Linked DNA regions of Homo sapiens: regions 1 and 3 are each linked to region 2. The links are contacts of gene promoters, found by promoter capture Hi-C in blood cells and fetal thymus (Javierre and others, 2016). All regions are on one chromosome and are shown on one strand. Each heading gives the region's core, a stretch centred on a gene start or on the middle of the fragment in contact. The rest is flanking DNA. Distances are from core to core; before and after follow the strand shown.

Evidence for each region. Contacts are between HindIII fragments. The CHiCAGO score rates a contact against its expected background, and 5 or more counts as called.
Region 1: a contact is called between a fragment that was not itself captured here and the fragment with the promoter of MAML2 in region 2, in 3 of 17 cell types (activated CD4 T cells, fetal thymus and total B cells). The highest score is 5.6, in activated CD4 T cells.
Region 3: a fragment that was not itself captured here is called in contact with the fragment with the promoter of MAML2 in region 2 in 2 of 17 cell types (total B cells and fetal thymus); the score reaches 5.3 in total B cells.

The regions. Positions count from the first base shown.
Region 1 is chr11:95,825,932-95,829,422 of GRCh38, forward strand. It overlaps CEP57 (centrosomal protein 57), which reads left to right. Exons shown (of 11, transcript NM_014679.5): 9 at 1,855-2,096; 10 at 3,256-3,400. Among named protein-coding and RNA genes, the nearest start is that of CEP57, 37 kb to the left of the region's middle. The HindIII fragment of the contact is 517 bases long and covers 1,926-2,442 here.
Region 2 is chr11:96,341,766-96,345,124 of GRCh38, forward strand. MAML2 (mastermind like transcriptional coactivator 2) reads right to left here and starts at 1,430. Exons shown (of 5, transcript NM_032427.4): 1 at 1-1,430. The coding sequence starts at 130. RefSeq lists silencers at 47-306, 1,424-1,613. The HindIII fragment of the contact is 8,013 bases long and covers 1-3,359 here.
Region 3 is chr11:95,796,588-95,800,163 of GRCh38, forward strand. It overlaps CEP57 (centrosomal protein 57), which reads left to right. Exons shown (of 11, transcript NM_014679.5): 2 at 2,645-2,801. Among named protein-coding and RNA genes, the nearest start is that of CEP57, 7.9 kb to the left of the region's middle. The HindIII fragment of the contact is 3,381 bases long and covers 1-3,270 here.

The sequences.
Region 1 (3,491 bases), core at 934-3,433, 520 kb before region 2:
ACGACATCGACCCTTCTATGATACATCACTGAAACTAAAACAAATGGTGGAAGAATTGGTATCTCATAGAAACATTTTTAGAGAAATGAAAAAGCAGAAAAGTCAAGACAAATTATAGTGTATTTCTGTAAAGTTACACAGAATGTGCTAGCCTCTCCTGCCTCCCCCTCCACTTCTTCTGCCTCTGCCACTCCTGAGACAGCAAGACCAACCCTACCCTTCTGCCTACTCAACAGTGAAGATAATGGGGATGAAGGCCTGTATGGTGATCCAGTTAATGAATAGTAAATATACTTTCTCTTCCTTAGGATTTTCTTAATATTTTTTTCTAACTTTACTTTTAGAATATTGCTTACAATACATAAAACAAAAATGCTTCCAGTCAACAGCAGGCTATTACATTTTAGGGCAAAATTTATTATAGTTCTCAGTTACATAAGTGGGAGCTGAATGATCAGAACCCATGGACACATAGTGGGGAACAACATACACTGGAGCCTGTTTGGTGGGGGAGTTGGTCAACGGGGAGGGAGAGCATCAGGAAGAGTACCTAATGGATGCTGGGGTTAATACCTAGGTGATGGGTTGATCTGTGCAGCAAACCACCATGACACACATTTACCTATATAACAAACCTGCGCATGTACGCCAGAACTTAAAAGTTGAAGGAAAAAAAAATTTCATTATGGCAGAGTTTTGACTACATGGGTGGTCGGTGCCCCTAACCCCTCCATTGTTCAAGGGTCAAGTGCATATTAATATAATCAGAAAAATAACAGAACGAGAATTTTTTAAATTATTGCATATTGAAAGTGTACTCATAGGCAATTAGTATGCTAAATATATATTACAAGTTACGAGCAAAATAGTGGTTACATCGATTGATTTTTGAATAGTGGACCAGCCTTGCATTGATGTAATAAACTCCCACTTGGATGTGATATATAATACTGCTGCATTCACTTTGCTAGCTAACAATAGAAACTAAGATTAGAAGGAAAGCATATGTTTAGCTTAGCATGGTGGTTCCAAATCTGGCTAATCAAAATCAACTGGAGGACTTGAAAACACAAATTTCCAAACCCTAACTCTGCAGTGAGTTTGGTGTGCTGCCTAGGAACCTGCATTTTAAATATGCTTTCTAATAATATTTATGGAGCCAAGTAAGCCCAGCCATCTATTTATAAAGTGGAATAGTACATTGAGATTGTTGGTTTAGTGTTTAAAACAAAAGCAAAATATCTTTGAGAAGTCTATCAGGTTTTTCTTACACACGTGATAGACATGTAATTTAGTGCTTCCTATTATTCCAGGATACAGAAATGAACAATAGTGTCTACCACCTGGATGTACACTGTTTAATAGGTGAAATAGATATGTAAAAGCAATTAAAATATGATAAATGCTATGAGAGAGATGTAAAAAGTGTTATAGGTGATCTGATAATGGACTGATTGATTACCTGGCAGTTTTAAGGAAGCCTTTAAAAATAATATATTTGAACTGGGTTTTAAAGAATGATATAAATGTTGCTAATACACCAAAAAAATGTCATCTGCAAATATGGTTTGTTCACAAAATGGAGAGAAGGGGAGGATGATAGGACATGAGGCTAGGAAATGTAGGTTGCAGCTCAATGATGTGTATGTAGGGCCTTATTTTCCATTCTGAAACATAGTTAGTGGATTTATATCAAAGGATTTCAAATAGAAGAACATCATGATGAGAATAATTTTAGGATTTATATACTCTACTTTAGGGGGTGGAGAGTTCTTTTTACCTAGGCTTAGGGAATAGAAAGTGGTGTAGAGAATATAACTTCAATTACTTCTTTCATCATTTTTCTTCCTTTAGTCCACAAGCCCTAGCCATGCCGTGGTAGCCAATGTTCAGCTTGTCTTGCATCTAATGAAGCAACACAGTAAAGCTTTGTGCAATGATCGAGTCATCAACAGTATTCCTTTGGCAAAGCAAGTATCTTCACGAGGTGGTAAAAGTAAGAAGTTGTCAGTAACACCTCCCTCCTCCAACGGTATTAATGAGGAGTTGTCAGAAGTCTTACAGACTTTACAGGATGAATTTGGGCAAATGAGCTTGTGAGTTTTTGTTTTTTTTTTTAAATTCAGTTTAGCTCTAAAACCTCATTTTTTAAAAACTTGTTGACTTTATTAAATCTTACTTTCCTTTGTTGAGCAAGTATGGTTGAGCACAATCCTTATACCAACCAAGTTACTGGGACTTTAACAAATACAACTAATAAGGGTAAAATCTCTCTCTTTTTAAATACTGTTAAATGTTTTGAAGACCAAGGTTTATATTTAAGTTTTATTTCTTTGAGAACTTATGATATACAGTCATGCATCACTGAATGACAAAGATGTGCTCTGAGAAATACATCATTAGGCGATTTTCTTTTCCTTGTGCTAACATAAGAGTGTGCTAAGCTTATAGCTTATTGCTCCTAGGCTACAAACCTATACAGCATGTTACTCTACTACTAAATACTATATGCAGTTGTAACACAATGGTAAGTATTTGTGTATATAAACATCTAGGTAGAGTAAAAATATGATACTAAAGTCTTACGGGACCACTGTTGTATATGTGGTCTGTTGTTTACTACATCATCATCTGGCACCTGACATCACATTCATTTTAGCTAAACTTAACTGATAAGACATGAGTGTTTGAAGAGCAAGATTCATCTGTAGACTTTACATATACAATACTCTTTTGGGGAAAATAAGAATATAAAGAATTAACCTTGAAATTAAGAACTCTTGCATTTCCCTCTAGTGCCTTTCTTGAACTTTTAAATTCATATTTTTAATTAAAAATTTCTTGATCTAGGCTAGGCATGGTGGCTCACACCTGTAATCCCAGCACTTTGGGAGGCTGAAGTGGGCATATCACATCCTGGCTAACAGGGTGAAAACCTGTCTGTACTAAAAATACAAAAAATTGGCCAGGCATGGTGGCAGGCGCCTGTAGTCCCAGCTACTCGGGAGGCTGAGGCAGGAGAATGGCGTGAACCCGGGAGGCAGAGCTTGCTGTGAGCCGAGATCATGTCACTGCACTCCAGCCTGGGCGACAGAGCAAGACTCCGTCTCAAAAAAAAAAAAAAAATTTATTGCTCTGTTCAAAAAATGGAGTCATTTTTTAAACACATGGAGCAGTAACCCATAATGAGGTATAATAGACCTAACCATGAAACACAGAAAACTTAACCATGTTCTACTTCTGCTTTGTATATAGTGATCACCAGCAGCTTGCAAAACTTATCCAGGAGTCGCCAACCGTTGAACTGAAAGACAAGTTGGAGTGTGAATTGGAGGCATTAGTGGGAAGGATGGAAGCAAAAGCCAACCAAATAACTAAAGTTCGAAAATACCAAGCCCAGGTAACTCAGTTTTCCTTCACTCAAGTTTCTAATGATTAAGAAAAAAAAAACACTTTAATTCAAATATTAAATGATGACACTAAGTGTATCA
Region 2 (3,359 bases), core at 180-2,679:
TCCGAGCCCGGAGGCGCTCCACGATAGCACTGTGCACTCTCGGGGTGACTGAGCCCCCTCCAAGGAGCCCCGCCCCAGAGGCCCCCCCTAGCCCTCCTGCGGGGGCCTGCGGGGGCGCTGTGTCCCCCATCTTACCGGACACAATGATTGCTGCCTCTGGGATGGTGAGGTGGAAAGAGGCTACTGCTGGCTATTGCAGGCAAGTCTGTTTTTGACAATGTGAGCTCAGTGTTCAGGGCCACATGAATAGAGGTCTTCAGAGGTTGTGGGGGAGCCGTGGAGAAGTTGTGGGGGAGGGGAGTTAGTAAAAAGAGGGTGGGGAGAAAGAATAGAAACCAACTGGGGGGAGGATAAGTTGGAAACAAACCCTGATTAACTTACTCTAATTGCATTTGACAGCTCTGGAGAAGTTGGACAGAGTTGGTGGATTTTTTTTCCTCCACCAAGCTGACAAGAGCCACTAGGTACTTTGTAAACACACGATCTGGGGGTTAGATCAAGAATTCAGGGATTGTCCAGCAAGAGACAGAAACACACAGCAAAAGGTATTGAGAGAGGTATTAATAGAGAGGACTCCCCCTCACCTAGTTGTTTCCGACAATTCTTTATGGGGATGTTTCTGCAGAGAAACACATTTCTACCATGTCTATGTAACCAGCAGCCTTGACTTTTCCTCAGGTTAAATAAAAAACCAAAACAAAACAAAACAGTGCTGTTTCAGAAGATGTTTAAGTCACTGTTCAAAATGTGCAAAAATCAAGGGAGACTGTCTTTTGGCTTTTAATTTTTCCTCCCTTTCCTTTCGCTCCGGTGTTTTCTCCTCTTTGGGGTACTGTAGGATGTTGTCTTCTCCCAAAAGAGGGAGACAGCTTTTCAACTGTTAACAATGTCAGTAATTGGACTTTTGGACCATGCTTTTTTCTTCAGCTAATCCAATCACCGGTAAAATCCTCACTCCCTCTAAGGTTTCCTAGCCTTAAATGAAAAGCAATCTTAAGTCGCTAGCCACTGAGAGAGATCCTTCAACACATTTTTTTCTTTCCCGCTTACGTTTCTATTCCTCACCCCCGGCTCTATTCTAATACAGTATCAAGAGAGACAAACTCTTCCGAGAGTAATTTACAAACGATGGTCAAACTTACAAACTTCCAGCAAATTGCACCGAGTCATGTCCAGCCACTTTTCTGTCCACTTTTGTACATTCCATCCCCGGCCAGTGGATCTGAGGGTCTGGACTCGCAATAAGCAATCTGGTTCTATCTCCTGTATTTGCTCCGCTTTATAGATGGAAAAAAAAAGTAGCTTGTATTTTCCTTTCTCTTTCTCGTCTGTTGTTAGCCGCTTTGCTGACACTGGCTCGCGCCCGGAGTCACGGCGATACACAGGCTTTCATTGTGCTCCGATAGGAGAGGGAGAGAAAGAGAGAGAGTGAGACAGAGAAGGAGAAAGAGAGAGCCAGCAAGCTGCAGATGGGGGTGGGGGGGCGGGGAGAGGGCGGGAGAGCTCGTTCGAGGCTCCCTGGTGGAAGGCTGGTGCCACTGCGCGAGTGAGTAATCGCAGCCAGGCACCGGGGAAAGGGGAACGCAGAGGGCCTCCCAGTGGCTGAAGAGGTAAATCCCAAGCCCTGCGCATCTCAGCTGCCCTGGCTCAGCTCAGCATCAGACTCGGTTAAGCGGGGAAGGCTGGGGAAATTCCCCAACCTCTACACAACCATTTCACCAGCTCTAAATGTTTAAGAAATTCCGGGCCAGGAATGTGTTTTCCCTTTCAGCCCTACATTACGCCCCGCTGAGGATATCATTTTCATTTTTCAGTATATTGTAAATGACACCACTGAGCAACCTAGCACGAGCTGTGTGAGCACCGAGGAAATGTTCATTAATAGAATAAGGAAGATATGAATGTGTGTGTTGAGGGCGGAAGGGGTTGCGCGTGGAGAGGAGAGGTAATCACATTGTTAGCTCCTAAAGGGCAGGCAGGTGTAGCGTTTGTCTACCTGCCTGCCCATTTGTGTGTCTCTGGATAAGTGAGTCTGGGTGATCACAGGCAAATCAGTTGGGATAAATAAAATATTTTATGAGAATGATACAATTATCGATACCAGTTCTAGAAAAAAACGCTTTTTTTTTGGGAATGCATGATTGCCTATGAAAAACCAAATATAAGACCTGAAGTATCCTTAGCTACCTGGTGCACATATACAATGAGGAAAGTCAATGTGTAGCAGCTGAGTTTCAAAAAGTTTTTTTTTTTTTTTTCTTTTAATGGAGTCTTGTTATGTTGCCCAGGCTGGAGTTGAACTCCTGGGCTCAAGTGATCCTCCCACTTGAGCCTCCTGAGTAGCTGGAACTACAGGTACTCACCACTACTGCACCTGGCTCTGAGTTTCAAGAAGTTTAATAATAGAAACCAAATAGATCTCACACAGATCATTGTTCCCCCATTTTCAAGTGATCCAACCTTTAAAATATCCAATCCTGGCCAGGCACAGTGGCTCACGCCTGTAATCCCAGCACTTTGGGAGGCCAAGGCAGGTGTATTACCTGAGTTCAAGAGTTCAAGACCAGCCTGGCCAATATGGTGAAACCCCGTCTCTGCTAAAACTACAAAAATTAGCTGAGCATGGTGTCATACGCCTGTAATCCCAGCTACTCGGGAGGCTGAGACAGGATAATTGCTGGAACCCAGGAGGCGGAGGTCGCAGTGAGCTAAGATCACGCCACTGCGCTCCAACCTGGGCAACAGGGTGAGTCTCTGTCTCCAAAAAAAAAAAAAAAACTTATTGTGGATTCTGCTTATTTTCAATTATGAAGATTAAATTAAGGTGAGCATAATACTGCAACAGTCAGGACCAAAAATATTCTGGGTATCCTAATTTGGAAGTCATTTGGATTTGAGGTCTCAAATAATATACCTTCAGTAATCTAAACAAACTCTGGCATTTCACGAATATGGTCGTTTCAAACTGAGCTATGGATAGAAATAGGCAAAATCAAGGCAAACATCTCAATACTGGATTTATTTGCAATTTAGTTCCCTATAGGATAGCCTACTTTAGTCCATTTTATTTTCACCAATCCTGTTAGCTTGGAAATGGGGACAAATACACTCAGATTTTTTGTTTGTTTTATAATTTCTTTTATTTCTTTTTTTAAATTTTATTATTATTATACTTTAAGTTTTAGGGTACATGTTCACAACGTGCAGGTTTGTTACATATGTATACATGTGCCATGCTGGTGTGCTGCACCCATGAACTCGTTATTTAGCATTAGGCATATCTCCTAATGCTATCTCTCCCCCCTCACCCCACCCCACAACAGTCCCCAGAGTGTGATGTTCCCCTTCCTGTGTCCATG
Region 3 (3,576 bases), core at 330-2,829, 550 kb before region 2:
CAGATTTATTGAACATAATAAAACTCCTTTATTAGAACTTAATTTCTCCAGCAAAAATTCTACACCAACTGGGTGTACTACAATTATTTTAATTCTGACACTGCCCAGATGTTGCTCAGACCCCCATACATTAAGGGGCTCCGTTTCACAAGACTGCCTGCCCCCAAGTCAGTCAGAGTTCGCAGAGCATCTGCATTTCTGCTCAGCTGACTACAAATTATGGGATTCCTGCAGCTTTCCAAGAACGGCTCACAGTACTCAGGAAAGACTGTTCTTAAGCAATTTCAGTTTTATAAAGGACACAACTCAGAAACAGCCAAATGGAGGAGACATAGGGCAAGGTGTGAAAGGGCTTCTGTATCCTCTGGTGCAGCACCTTCCCAGCATATCAGTATGTTCAACAATCTAGAAGCTCCCCAAACCTCATTATTCAAGAGTTTTCATTGAGCTTTCATTACATAAATACATAATTGAGTAAATTATTGTCCGCTGGTCACTGGGCTCAATCTGTCCCTTACCTCCCCTAAGGTCAGGGCCTAGGGCTGAAATTTGTGACTCTTCCCCCCCACCCCACCCCCCTCCCAACACACACACACACAGACGGAGTCTCACTCTCTTGCCTAGGCTGTAGTGCAGTGGCCCAATCTTGGCTCACCACAACCTCCACCTCCTGGGTTCAAGTGATTCTCCTGCCTTGGCTTCCTGAGTAGTTGGGATTACAGGGCACACCCCCACACTTGACTAATTTCTTTGTATTTTAGTTAGAGACAGAGTTTCACCATGTTGGCCAGGCTGGTCTCGAACTCCTGACCTCAAGTGATCCGCCCAGCTCGGCCTCCCAAAGTGCTGGGATTACAGGCATGAGCCACCATGCCTGGCTGAAATCTGTAGCTCTTTATAATCTAGTGGTTGGTTTTTCTGGCAACCAGCTTCCAGAAGATGCCTTCAAACCTGAAGCTACCTAGGTGCCCTACCTTGAGTCCCTTCATCAGCCTAACAAGGATACCCTATCACTTAAGAAATTCTAGGAGTTTTTGAATCTGTATCTGAAACCAAGGACAAAAGACTAAATATATTTTTTATTATACCACAGGGCATACAGATAATAAAAATGTATATGTCATGAGGAGTGATATAAAATAGTAAAGGGCAAGCCCACTAACATACAAAATGTAGAACAGAGGTAGTTCCATTTGGGGAACTAGTTTGTTAGTTAATCACATAGTTAATGGGATTCCCCTGACTGGGCAGAGGGTGGTCGGCAAGTCACTTAATATTTTTGAATATTAAATGATAGGATTCTGGTGGGTTGTAAATAACCAATGAAAACTTGAGGTTCTCTGTGACATTTAAAATTAAGCTATGCAGTAATTGAGGATGCTTTGCAAGACCTTTGACAATATTATAAAGAATTGAAAACTCATCCTATTTTCCAGTTACCTGTAAAACCAGATGCCAATTTGCCATTAAGTTTGGAAAATGACAAATACTAGTCTTTGTTATATATGAACATACTATAGTAGACTTAGCACTTATTTATTTGAGTACCACTTTTAAGACTTGGCCCTACCCTCCTAAGCTCTTTGTCCCCACTTTTGATTGTCATAGCCATAGTGTGTTTTATATTTATATAAATAGAAAATGTTTTATATTTGCTTTCTTAAATCACCTGGAAATTTGCATGATTTTTAACATGGAAGTAAAATCTTTAATTTTAAATAAGATTTAAATACAGTGCAGGTATTTCGATAGCCTTTGTTTCAGGAGATTGTTTACTGTTTTAAATATTCATTGTGCTCTTGTACTTTTATGAACACGGATTATTCTGGTAAATGTAAATCTTCAAAGGTAAGAATTGAAAAACATAGTTTGCTGTGGCCGTTTGAGGAAGGAAAGTGGATGAACATTTTGAATAGCTGGTAGTCATATCTTCCACCTTAGCCCTCAGCTTCTTAGTTACTTCCCCCAGTCTAGGACCATCTGTCAGTAGGAAGTCGCCTACAACAAATAAAACTCCACAGTTAGCATCTCCTGGGTTGAAATTATTATGTGGAATCCTAAATTTAACAGAATCTCATTCATGACAGAATGGTGTACTGTGGAAATAAAGTTTTATGTTTGAGTGTTTGATGGGCCTTAATGTTTTCTAATTATTTTCTTTTTTGTTAATTAAATGTAAAGTATTTGAGGCAAGGACAGTGCCTTATTTTCTTTCTGGAGTTTTGAATACTATAAATATTCAAGTAGTAGTTTGTGGATGGGGAATAGAGTAATTCAGTCATTTGTAGCAGTTTCTGGTCCTGTAAAAATAATGTTTTTATTTTTCTGAACGTATATTTCACAGTATATATTTTTAACTGCGGTATTTACATTCATTGTATCATTTAAGTATTTCTGCACAGCATTTGTATTCAAGTTGTATGAACATTATTTTCTTCTTGTGTCTGGCATATGGCTATATTCAGACTAATATGAAACACTTTAAAAGTTGTATTTCTTTAATGATTGAATTGTATTGTTTCTAGTCAGTGGATTTTTTCTGTTGTCTGTATGGACAGTCAATCTCAGTCATAAATATTTGTGATTTAAATCTGCTATTTGTGGTTCACACTTTTGAAAGGTAATTTGTGTCTTTATTTTTTAGAACAGCTTTGCTGAGCCATCAAGGTCTAATGGAAGCATGGTTCGGCATTCTTCATCTCCATATGTAGTATATCCTTCGGATAAGCCTTTCCTTAATAGTGATCTACGACGCTCCCCAAGTAAGCCTACACTTGCCTATCCAGAAAGCAACAGCAGAGGTAATCGAGCCTAACGAAATAAATGTTATTTGTGTTTTCTTGCTGCTTTAAAATTCTTAACTTTGTCCTCCATTATTTTGCCATTAGAGGAAAATATATTTCCCCTTTGCTTCCAGTTTCAGCCCCCAGAAAATATTATGCTTTTCTTGTATTCCTTATATTGATTGTTGAACATCATCATCCACCAAATTACTGATGCTAAAACACTTTGAGTCATCAGTGACTGCTCTGTAATCCCCACTATTAGTCCGGAATGAAGACCTTTTTTTGCTTCTGAAATATACCAAAAGCATACTGTTTTTTCTGCCTTTTTGTGTTCTCATTGCTTTGGTTCAGGCTTTCATCATCTGTAGCCCAGATGTTCATAGTACATTCCTCATTAATCTCCCTGCCTGTTTTCTCCTCCTCATCCCCAGTTAACAACATTTCTGTCATTTGTCATTATCCATCATCTCTCCCACAAAATTAAAGCTTTAGCATCTCTTCATAGCTTACATAATAAATTCTTAATTTTTCATAACCTAGACCCTATATGCCTCACCAGCTTCATCCCTAACTTGTCTTCTGTTTTTTCCTTTCCCATCCTTTGCTCTGGCTACTTTGAAATACATTTATTCCTGGAACCTGCCATCTGTATTAGTTTTCTTGTCGCCTTAACAAATTGCCATGAACTTAGCTTTAAATATTTGTTATCTCAGTTTTCTGTAGGTCGGAAATCTGTGTAGGCTTATCTGGGTCCTCTGTTTAGAGCCTTACAAGGCTGAAATCAAGGCTT